2 separate regions of the Homo sapiens genome follow, and region 2 is linked to region 1. The links are contacts of gene promoters, found by promoter capture Hi-C in blood cells and fetal thymus (Javierre and others, 2016). All regions are on one chromosome and are shown on one strand. Each heading gives the region's core, a stretch centred on a gene start or on the middle of the fragment in contact. The rest is flanking DNA. Distances are from core to core; before and after follow the strand shown.

What was found. Contacts are between HindIII fragments. The CHiCAGO score rates a contact against its expected background, and 5 or more counts as called.
Region 2: a contact is called between a fragment that was not itself captured here and the fragment with the promoter of VIP in region 1, in 1 of 17 cell types (megakaryocytes). The highest score is 5.6, in megakaryocytes.

Annotation. Positions count from the first base shown.
Region 1 is chr6:152,748,866-152,755,103 of GRCh38, forward strand. VIP (vasoactive intestinal peptide) reads left to right here and starts at 1,932. Exons shown (of 7, transcript NM_003381.4): 1 at 1,932-2,094; 2 at 3,303-3,419; 3 at 5,301-5,423. The coding sequence starts at 3,313. LINC02840 (long intergenic non-protein coding RNA 2840) reads right to left here. Exons shown (of 5, transcript NR_183508.1): 5 at 6,011-6,238. The HindIII fragment of the contact is 3,260 bases long and covers 1-2,621 here.
Region 2 is chr6:152,958,795-152,964,790 of GRCh38, forward strand. It overlaps the pseudogene C11orf98P2. Among named protein-coding and RNA genes, the nearest start is that of FBXO5, 21 kb to the right of the region's middle. The HindIII fragment of the contact is 583 bases long and covers 4,139-4,721 here.

The sequences.
Region 1 (6,238 bases), core at 682-3,181:
AGGATAAATTTGACTGCAGTACTTTTTCTTATGTTTATTTTTTCTGGAAGCATCCAAAAGTTAAGCTGGCTACAGGACCTCTGGTTTACAATTCATTTCCTTGAAAGAAAAGAAGAAATAAACACAATTCTATAAAGTCTGTGAATTAAAACTTTGAACCTGCAGATGGTGCTATGATTCCATTTTCAAATTGTTTTGCTTTCTAGTTTAAATTCATAAGAGAAAATGCAGTTGTTTGGTTGAGTTTACTTTTATTCAGAGGTAATAAAATTGAATTATTTCTTTTTATTTTATCTTATTATTATTATAATAGAAGCAATTGTCTTTTGTATTGGGAAAAGCTACTATAGTTACTCTTTGTAAATGCTAAGTGCTTGCCTAGGCCAAATAATGATCAGCTTTACATCTTTTATGTTTAAAATTTTTCTTCTTATCATTCAGCAGTCATTTGTCTGTGACCCTCAATTAAGTTGCTTTGCTGTTTCTGCTCTTAAATAAAATTGGTTCACTAAGAATTGGGTGATGAAGAGCTAAGGATAAAAAAATTCCATATGAGAACTGTTTCAACCTCTAGTTTGTAATAATCAGGTAAAAAAGATTTCCTGGAATTAAGCCACAGGAACTCTGGCTTAAGTCAGAGCTGTCAACTGGGAAACAAATTTCCAGACATTTTGAAACTTAATTCATTTAATTTTTCTGGTAACTGGATTAGAAAATATGATTAAGCATAGCAGGATATTCTTTTACTGGATCAGTCTGACTTTGAACGAAGGAAATAGATACTACAATCTTAAAGTAGAAGAAAGAGGACTGTAAAGCCATTCTGTCTTATGAAACTTAGAAACAAAATGTAAAAATAATACACATGGCAGAAAGCCTTTAAAATAAAAGGAAAAATGGCATTTTCCTCTGTTGTTTAGGAAATTTTTCATGTGGCTGCATTTTTACCTTAAACTCTGATTGAATGTGTGCTAGACTACCTTTAGTTACAAATCCACAAATAGAAGTGAAGTATTTATCAAAGTACTATATAAATGCTTTTCAACTATTTGAAGCCACCTGTCAAGTGATTGAATCAGAAATGTTCAAAACTGGTTTGAGTATGTGTGTGTGTTGGGGATGAGGGTAGAAAACTAATTCTACATTATGCAAAGACTTATAAAAGTGATGAGGAAAATCTTTAAAAAGAAAAGACAATTAAATTCCTTGAGGTATATAGCCTGACAACAATTTATTTTTTGGATCATTTGACACAGTGTATGTAAAAGTGCATTGGGAATTGTGCCATTTTATACAAATATGAAATAGCACTACTTGTACTGCTTTGTACAACAGCGTGCATATCTTACTATCTTAGAGACTTTCTGAAACACTTATCTTGGAATTAGTTTCAACAAAGACGAAATGTAATAATAGGAAGGTGAAAATTATCTCTAGAGCTTTTAAAGTTAGGATAGATTTCAAGAAAGATTAAATCTGGAACTATATGAATAGCATAAAAATTAAAAATATTAAGAGAATTGATACTTTGTAATAAAGTATAATTATACTTTTATAAGCGTAATGAACATAAGTGTTTGTTGCTTTATGCATTTGTTTCTACACATGAAGTCTTTATTTTCTGAAGGAATCCCAATGGCCCTGGCTATAACACTACAATCATTTTCTTATTTTACAATTAATTAAAGGTTAAAACATTTCACATTGAGCTTGCTACTTTGTTTGTTTAAAGAAAAGTAAATTTCCTCTTATCTTACATTTTGAAGTTGCTCACTATAAACTTATATAAATTAGGCATAATGACAATTAAGTAAGAACTTCAAGCCCTATTCATCCCATGGCCGTCATACTGTGACGTCTTTCAGAGCACTTTGTGATTGCTCAGTCCTAAGTATAAGCCCTATAAAATGATGGGCTTTGAAATGCTGGTCAGGGTAGAGTGAGAAGCACCAGCAGGCAGTAACAGCCAACCCTTAGCCATTGCTAAGGGCAGAGAACTGGTGGAGCCTTTCTCTTACTCCCAGGACTTCAGCACCTAAGACAGCTCCAAAACAAACCAGAACAGTCAGCTCCGGGGGAGCACGACTGGGCGAGGTAAGTGAAAACTTTACCTTTCCTCTTCTTTTTCCCTCCTGCCTCTGGAACTTTTCTCACAAAATAATGAATTTTTCTCTCTTGAAAAGAATTTGATAGTGCTTTGCTTTTGCAACAGCAAAAAACAAGTTTCTCAAGTCACCTGGTAAGGATAGAAATACTTCAATTTCTCTCATATGGATAGATTTTCTGAATTCTTTTGTTTGTAAGATGCTTTACCCTGCTTGCTCTTTTACTGAATACTGATTTTTACAAATAATTCATTCAAGTAAAGTTTACTTGTATGTAGATTTTTGACTGAAAATTTCAGTGGGAACATTTGCTTTTGAAATTTTCAACTTATTTTTAAAGTGCTTTTTTTTTCCTATTTCGTATGTTGGTTAAGTGAATCTAAGATGCATTTATTTTTTCCTTAAGTTTAAATTCCATAATTTTTATAGGCAGCAAGAGAAACAGACCTTACTCCTAGGCTTTTAATCTAGAAACTAGAAATGAAATGTGTAAGTTGATTAAATGCAAGAAATGCAAGCTTTGCTTTTAATATATATTTTCCTCTTATGGAAAAATTTATTTCAATGACAACATATGATTCAGTAATATTTTGAGTATTAATATTCACTACTGAGTTAAGAAGTTCAAATCCAGGTGTAAGGAAATAAGTTTCCGTAATATCTACAATTGAAAGAGGAAAAAGTAATGTATATACAAAATCTTTTTTAAAATTATATGTATATATACACATTATATTTATACATTTGCACACACACGAGCAGAATAATTATTAAATAGATGATACTCTAGTCTTATATTAGTCAGATACTGAAATTTTAAAGCAGAAGAAAATCAATGTCTTGAAGCTGTTTCCTTCGTCAAAAAATACACTAAGCTTGAGTGGTACATCCCTGTTATGAAAAGATTGTCCCCAGGGTTATTTCCAGCACTATAGAAGTATGGCATTCAATAGATACTGGGGCCAACCATGTGCCCAGACAGCAGGTGAAAAGGATTCTAATTTTTATTCAAGCACCTGTCACTGAGAGAAATACTGATTTTTGAATGTATCATCTTGCAATTTAACTCTTTCTACAAGATGAAAATTACTCTTTACAAACTCTGCAAGAGCCATTGAAAATTACTGCTAGACAATCAGAATTACCTTGCTGGTGACATCTTTGGCTGGAAGAACTGAGGTGATTCTCTCTCTTTAGAGGCACAGAAATGGACACCAGAAATAAGGCCCAGCTCCTTGTGCTCCTGACTCTTCTCAGTGTGCTCTTCTCACAGACTTCGGCATGGCCTCTTTACAGGGCACCTTCTGCTCTCAGGTAAGTTCCCTTTCAATTCAAACATCTGAACATTCCTTCCTCATCTAAATGGGAATTTCCTATACATTTTGTTGGACAACTAAATAGTATAAATTATGTATTATGTATTTAAATTTTTCCTTGATGTGTTGAGTGAGAGGTGTTTGTCAACATCAGGTCATTCTGAGTCCTGGAATTCACTTTCAGGGCATGAGAGACACTGTCAGTTATTAGTTTTATGGGCTGAGTGGATCACATTCCCAAACATGGTGAAAGGAGGCTTTCACTTTCTTTTTATTCAAAACCATCTTTAGATAAATAATAAGCTTTTATCCATTGTTATCTCAAGTCAGTTCAATTTCTGGTGGAAAAAAGCTGTTTAGTTGCCAACCACATTTGAGTTTATTTTCAAGATTAATCAGTAAATAATCATAAGACTAGTAGTTGATTAGTGAAACATGTATAAAATCATGTTGCACAGAAATCTATCTAGGCAGAGTCAATTTGCCAATATTAAATATGGGGTAATTGATCTATTGAGATACACTCCCCCAATAGGAAAATTTTGATATACTTTGTTTGGACCATAAATCCTTAGTTTTATTGTTCTATATGTTATATTATATATTCCAAATCCATAAAGTATAACACAACTCTTATTTAAAACTTTATTAATGTATGCTAAAGAAGTAAACAATAAATGAAAACTATATTAGCTTGAATTTTCCTTTCAGTTTACGGGCACCACTGTATCTCCAAAGGAAAAATAATAATTGGGTTGGTTTCCTTCTTTGCTTATTAGGTCATTCTTGATTTTTTGCTTAAGGTAGACTTATGCTCAACAGAGAGAATAACCTCTTAGCTATTAGTGTTCTCTGTGAAATCTGTTTAAATACAGCTCCTGCGTTGCTTTGATAACTAAACAAAATGGTTCTATCTGAATAGTTCTACCACAGCAGATGAACAATCACAAGAATGTGGACATTTGTGTTGATTGCTAAGCTTCAGACCCACAGAGGACTAGTTGCTAGTGACTCCCAACTCCCAAATCACTGAAAGATACACAAGTGTCCAGGAGCTGACACGCTCCTTGGATGTTTGCCCTAACAGTGAAAATCTGCACACACAAAATTATAAGAGTTGCCGGTGATTGAAATATGCATGCATCCATAAATATAGTCATATTCCATATATGCATTTGACTATTCTTAGTCTTTCAGTGTAACATTGTACATCCCTTATTAAAGTTGTGTTAATACATAAGATTAGAAAAAAGAAGGCCCCATAAAACTTATTGAATTCAAATTCATCTTCATAGATGAGCTATCCATCTATGGAGACATTCTTTGAACTCTGTCAATACAGAGAAATATATAATGCCAAAGTAAATATTTGAAGCAAAGCTTGGGGGTCGAGAGAGAGAGAAGCAGTTAATACTCTGTTCTTCAGAGATGTTTGGAACAGGTAATACTGAACATCACCAAATCCATAAATTGTTATCAGTTCTCATTCAATATTAGTTTTTTGCAAGTTTCTATTTTGCATAAAATATTTCTACATACGAAATTTGACTTTGCAAAGTGAAGATATTCTTGGCATAGTAAATTACACCAAAGAAGTATAGTTTGCTTAATGCTCTGATAAGATTGAATTAAGTAGCTCTTGTGTTTTGTATATTCAGCTTATAAAAGTCATATGGCATCTACTTTATAGGATAATAGGAATTTCCTATTTATACTCTCATTAACTATATGAGCCATTAAGTCAAATTATGCTATTCTCATATTATGACTGGGTAATACTTCCCAAGAGTCTAAGTATCTTATTTTAAATGGTTGCGGAACCATACACACTGTCTTCTGAAAAAAGAATGTATTATTCTCGTGTAACTTTCCCCATCAGGTTGGGTGACAGAATACCCTTTGAGGGAGCAAATGAACCTGATCAAGTTTCATTAAAAGAAGACATTGACATGTTGCAAAATGCATTAGCTGAAAATGACACACCCTATTATGATGTATCCAGGTGAGTTTATTTTTATAAAACTATCCAATGAGTTTTATTTTAGAAAATGTGTTTAAGAACTATAAACGTGCTTATTTTATCTCACCATGAAGCTATTCCGATAGCAAAACACTAGAGGTTTCTATGTGTCATGGCTTCATTCATCCTGATTTACTGCAGATCTTACAGCTGTACATAATTTTCATACTGAAAGGTTGTAACAAGCCAGGATGAACACACCATTCACTTCCATTCTGTTGCACATAATTCCAACATCACAGATTGTACCAATTCTGATAAAAGTACAGCATTTAGCATTCCAATGATGGAAGAGTTGCCAAGGAGTTTTGTCTCTATATAAAGAAAAGATACCTGATAGAGCTGTTCATTCATAGAGCTGTTTGTCTAGAGCATCATTTCAAGTACAGACCAAGTAGCTCTATAGTACTTGGTACAGACAAAGTATAAAAGGTGCTTCATTTGAAAGAGAAAAGGTGGGATGATAGGCCTTAATGCCTTCTCTATCTTAAGAGATTTTGTTTCCAAATATTTTGGAAAAAGAAAAAAAAAGGTGTACTGGGGTTTATGAACTTTCCAAAATCAGAATATTTTCCCATTGTGAATGTCTTTATTCAGTGGGGCAGACACAAAGCACCATGTACAAATAGCAGCTAATTTAAATAGATCATATTTTTACACCAATATTTCTTAGAAAGAAATAGTTATAAAGATTCAACCATGGAGGAATATTGAAATGTGCTCCTAGAAATGCCTGTTTCTTTAATTTTTCAGTGTCTTGGGCTAGAAATATAGGGTATATCTTGATATAAGTGACT
Region 2 (5,996 bases), core at 3,180-5,679, 210 kb after region 1:
AAGATACAAAAATTAGCTAGGCATGGTGGCGCATGCCTATAGTCCCAGCTACTCCGGAGGCTGAGGCAGGAGAATAGCTTGAACCTGGGAGCCAGAGGTTGCAGTGAGCCGGGATCATGCCATTGTACTCCAGCCTAAGCGACAGAGCGAGACTCCATCTCTAAAAAAAAGAAAAAAAGAAAAATTCCTACTGAGGATAGTTCTGTGCTTGATTATGAAGCCAGTAGTGAGTGCTCTTTGTTTGTTTGTTTTCCAGAGTGCCAGGGTTTTATCACAAATGGAGTTGACTGCTAGAGAGGCCCTTCTCCAATCTTTCTTCTGTACCCTCTTCTCTCCCAAAGACATCCCTCCAGGGGAAGTCAGTAGGCCATTAGAAAGGAGGAAATATGGAGAGTGAAAAGGGGCACTGCTTTTGTCAACATCCTCTGAAACAACCACTGAGTCCTTTGGGCTCCAGTTGAGAATCTTCTAGTGGAAGAGGTTTAGCTCTCATCTTCAAGGTCCTTCATTTCTATGTCCTGGGGGACTTTTGTCCTCTTTTGCATTTTGAGCTGTGGTTCGATAGTCCTGGCTGGCTTTGACGGGCTTCCACCTCCATGGCTGCCTTCTCCATCTGGGCAAGCCGGATCTGCCGGAGGAGTTTTCTAGGCTTCTTCCCCTACAGAGTAATGTTGGCACGTGCACTGGATGCCTGCTTCTTGAGGTGGTGCCGCGTGATCAGCGCTTGATCTATCACAGCTTCGACCACCCAGTGCCTCAGACGCTGCTTGCGGTTCAACACCGGCCTGCGCTGATCAGCTTTTTCTTCAGCTCGGTTCGGCGCCAGTTGATTTTTCCCCCCGGGATCCCCCACAGTTGCTCGGCGACGCCAATATGCGGTCCGTACTTCCGCCTGGGGTTTGTTGTATTGGTGTGGTTTTCACTTCCCGAGGACATGGTTGTGGGGCTTGCTGTTGTGGTGCAGTCGCTGAATCCCAAAGACATGGTTACTTCCCTGACTACCTATCTTGCCTCAGGAATGTCTATGCTATGCCTGTCCCACCACTGTATTTTGGAAGCACATAACGCTTGGAAGCACATAACTTGCTTGATTCCACAGGCTCATGCCTGAAGTAAATTGCCTCCTTGCCATCCTGCCTTGACTTTAGCCTATATCTTATTTAGATGAGACTCTGGGCTTTGGACTTTTGAGTTGATGCTGGAATGATTTAAGCCTTTTGGGGGCTATTAGATGAAATGCATGTATTTTGCAAGAAAGACATGAATTTTGGGGCCCAAGGGAACAAAAAGGCTATGGTTTGAATGTGTCCTCAAAAAAGCATGTGTGGGCTGAGCACCGTTGCTTACACCTGTAATCTCAACATTTTGGGAGGCCAAGGTGGGAGGATTGCTTTAGCCCAGGGGTTCAAGACCAGCCTGAGTAACATGGTGAGACTCTGTCTCTACCAAAAAAAAAAATCATAACAAAAACTTAGCTGGGCATGGTGGTGTACACCTGTAGTCCCAGCTACTGGGGAGGCTGAGGTGAGAGGATCAGTTGAGTCTGGGAGATTGAGGTTGCAGTGAACCATGATAGTACGACTGTACTGCAGCCTGGGTAACAGAGTGAGACCCTCTCTCAAAAATAAATTAATTAATTAAAAGCATTTGTTGGAAACTTAATTTCCAATCTAATAGTGTTGAAAGGTAGAACCTAATAGAAGATGTTTAGGCTATAAGGGCTCCACCACTTATAAGTGGATTAAGGTTGATTACAAAGGGGCTTCAGGCTGCAAGTTCAATCTCTTGCCCCCCCTTTTTTTTTTTTTTTTTTGGAGATGGAGTCTAGCTCTGTCACCCCCAGGCTGGAGTGCAATGGCACGATCTTGGCTCACTGAAACTTCCACCTCCCAGGCTCAAGCAATTCTCCTGCCTCAGCCTCTGGAGTAGCTGGGATTACAGGTGCATACCACCACACCCGGCTAATTTTTGTATTTTAGTAGAGACGGGGTTTCATCAGGTTGCCCAGGCTGGTCTTGAACTCCTGACCTCAGGTGATCCGCCTGCCTCGACCTCCCAAAGTGCTGGGATTACAGACGTGAGCCACCGCGCCCAGCCTTCTTGCATTTTCTTTGCCCTTTTGTCATAAAAGAGTGCAGCAAAAAAGGTCCCTGTCAAATGTCAGCCCCTTGATCTTGGACTTCTCAGCCTTCTGAACAGTGAGCCAATAAATTTCTGTTCATTATAAATTACCCCGTTTCAGATAATCTGTTATAGCAGCACAAAATCAAGTGAAAAACTTGGTGAATAACCCTATTAATGTCTTATTGAATTCAGTTTACTAGTATTTTGTTGAGGATTTTTGCATGTATGTTCACCAGAGATTTTGGCCTATAATTGTCTTTTTTTGTAATGTCCTTGACTGGCTTTGATTTCAGTAAAGTTGCAGGATACAAAATTAACATATTAAAATTAGTATCATTGCTATACACTAACAACAAACTATTCACAAAAGAAATCAAGAAAACAATCCTATTTGTGATAGCATTAATGAAAAACTTAGAAATACATTTAACCAAAAATAAAATTAACCAAATACATTCAGTGTATGAGAGATCCATACACTGAATATTATAAAACATTGATGAAATAAATTTAAGAGAAAAACAAATGAAAATATATACAGTATTCATGGATTGGAGGAATTAACATTGTTAAAATGTCCATATTACCCCAGTGATCTACAGATTCAGTGCAATCCCTGTCAAAAGTGAAATGACCTTTTCCCAGAAATAGAAAAGAACAACCCTAAAGTTTGTATAGGAAAACAAAAGACCTCAAATAGTCAAAGCAATTTTTAGGAAAACAAAGCTGGAGGCATCACAATACCTGACTTGAAAATGTACCAAAAACGTATAATAATCAAAACAGCCCATACTGTCATAAAAGCAGACATATAGACCAAAGAAATAGAAAACAGAGCCCACACATTTACAGTCAACTGATTTTCAGCAAAGCTGTCAAGGACATACAATAAGGAAAGGACATTCTCTTCAATATGTTGGGAAAATTAGATATCAACACCCAGAAGAATGAAATTAGACCCTTAATCTTGTCCCAAGTACACAAGTCAAATCATAATGGGTTAATGTCTTAAATATAAGATCTGAAACTATAAAACCATTAGGGGAAAACAGAGGGAAAGAGCTTCTTAACATTGGATTTGGCAAAAATTTTTTGGATACAACCCCAAAAACACATGCAACAAAAGCAATATTAGACTAATTGGATTGCACCAAACTAATGAGCTTCTGCACACCAAAGGCAACAATCAACAGAGTGAAGAGACTATCTATGGGATGGGGAGAAAATATTTGCAAACCACATATCTGATAAGGGGCCAATATCCAAAATATTTAAGAAACTCAAACAACTCAATAGCAAGAAAACAACCAGTTTAAAAAATGGGTAGGAACCTGAATAGATATTTCTCAAAAGAAGACATGTGAATGGCCAACAGGTATATGAAAAGATGTTCAACATCACTAATAATCAATCAGGGAAATGCAAATGAAAGCCACAATGAGATATCGTCTCACTAGAATAGTCTTTATCAAAAAAATAAAACATAACAAGTGTTAACAAAAATGTGGAGAAAAGGGAACCCTAGTACATTGTTGGTGGGAATGTAAATTAGCATAATTATTTTGGAAAACAGTATGGAGGTTCCCCCCAAAATTAAAAATAAAACTATTGTATGATTCAACAATTATCTTTCTCAGTATGTTACCAAAGGAAATGAAGAGATATTCCCTCCTCCATGTTCATTTCAGTATTATTCATAATAGTAAAGATATGGAGTCAACCTAAGTGTTTATCAACTGATAAATGGATAAAGAAAATGTGATATATATACATAGCATGATACTATTCAGCCTTATGAAAAGAAAGATATCTTGCCTTCCACATGGCAGTCTTGCAACAACATGGATGAATGTGGAAGACATCATCCTAAGTGAAATAAACCAGGCACAGAAAGACAAAAGACAAACTGAATGATCTCACTTTTATGTGAAATCAGAGTAGAATGGAGGTTACCAGGGACTAGGGTGGGTGATAGTGAGGTGGAAAATGGAGAAATATTGGTTAAAGGATAAAAAGCTTAGTTAGATAGGAGGAATAAGTTCTGGAGATCCACTGTGAAGCATGGAGGCAATAGTGAATAATAATGTATTGTATGTATATTTGAAGACTGCTAAGAACATAGATTTTTAAATGTTCTCACCACAAAAAAAAGATAAGTATGTGAGGTGATGGATATGTTAAATCATTCTACAGTGTGTGTGTGTGTGTACATATATCAAAGCATCATGTACCCCATAAATATATAGAATCATTTGTTAATTAAAAATAACTTCAAAATGACAAAAATAAAGATGTTTTCACATGTACATAGGCTGAAAAAAATCAAAGACCAGCATATCTGTATTATAAGAAAAATTAAAGGAAGTCCTTCAGGCACAAGGAAAGTTTTATCAGATAGAAATATATTTATTTCTACCCAAAGGAATGAAGATACCAGAAATGACAACTGTGTGGGCAAATACAAGTATAAGAAAACTTTCTCATTACATAAATATCTTAGATGATAAACAAAGAAACAAAAATAATGTAGTGTATGTATATATTTGTGTATATATATACACATATATATTGCACTAACATGTATGATAACAGCACAAAGCTTAGAGGGAAGAAATAGTATGGCAGTTTTATACTATATATAAAAGGGTACAATAATATTTGAAGCTAGACTCAAGTTAAAAAGAAATACTATAAATCCAGAGGTAATAGCTAAAATCACAAAATAGAATTATAGCTAATTAGCTAATAAACTAGATATAAAGGAACCATAAAAATAATCAAAAGATGGCAAAAAAGAGAAAAAAATGGAATAAAGAACAATTACCAAATAGAAAACAAATATCAAGAAAGTAGGTTTAAATCCAACCATATCAATAATCCCATCAAGTGAAAATTGTCTAATTATCTCAAAAGACAAACATTTTTGAAGTAGATTAAAAAAATAAATGAATACTTGACTATATGCTGTCTGTAAGAAACACACTACCATAGAAAACTACAAAAAAAGTTAAAAATGGATGAAAAAATATACTATGCCAATATTAATTTCAAAAAACAAAACAAAACTGGAGTGCTTATTTTAATATAAAACAATGTAGATTCCATAGAAAAGCCACATCCAGGGATAAAAAGGTCATTTAAAAATGATAAAGTGTTCATTTCACTAAGAGAACATAATAATCTTAAATATTTATGCAACTAATGACAGAGCTTCAAAATACAGACAGCCTCTGACTTACAAATTTTCAACTTTACAATGTGCAAAAGGGATACACATTCAGTATGCTTTTTGACTTATGAAGTTGTGCACAGATAAACACACTGTAAGTTCAAACAGTGGGTGTATCCAGACATAACCACATTGTTGAGGAGCATCTGTACTTAAAAGCAAAAACTGATAGAATTACAAGAAATAGACAAATCCACAATTACAGCTAGGGATCTGAATACTTCTCACTCAATAATAGCACAAATAGATAGACATCAGTAAGGATATAGAAGATATGGAGAGCACTATCAACCAAGTTGAACCAATTGATATTTATAGGTCATTTTACCAAAGAACAGCAAAACACACCATATTCCCTTCATAGAGCGTATTATAGGCCAAAAACAAATACTCAATAAATTTGTAAGAATTGAGTCACACAACTGTTTTCTCTGACCACCATGAAATTAGAAGTTAATAAAAAGATATATGGACAATTCCAGAATATTGGAAAAGTAAATAACAGACTTATACATAACCTACACATCAAAGAAGAAATCCAAAGGAAAATTATAGAACACTTACAAATGAATAAAAAGAAAAGGACAAAATATCAGATTTAGTGGTATGCCGCTAGAATAGAATTTGGAGGAAACTTTTAGGA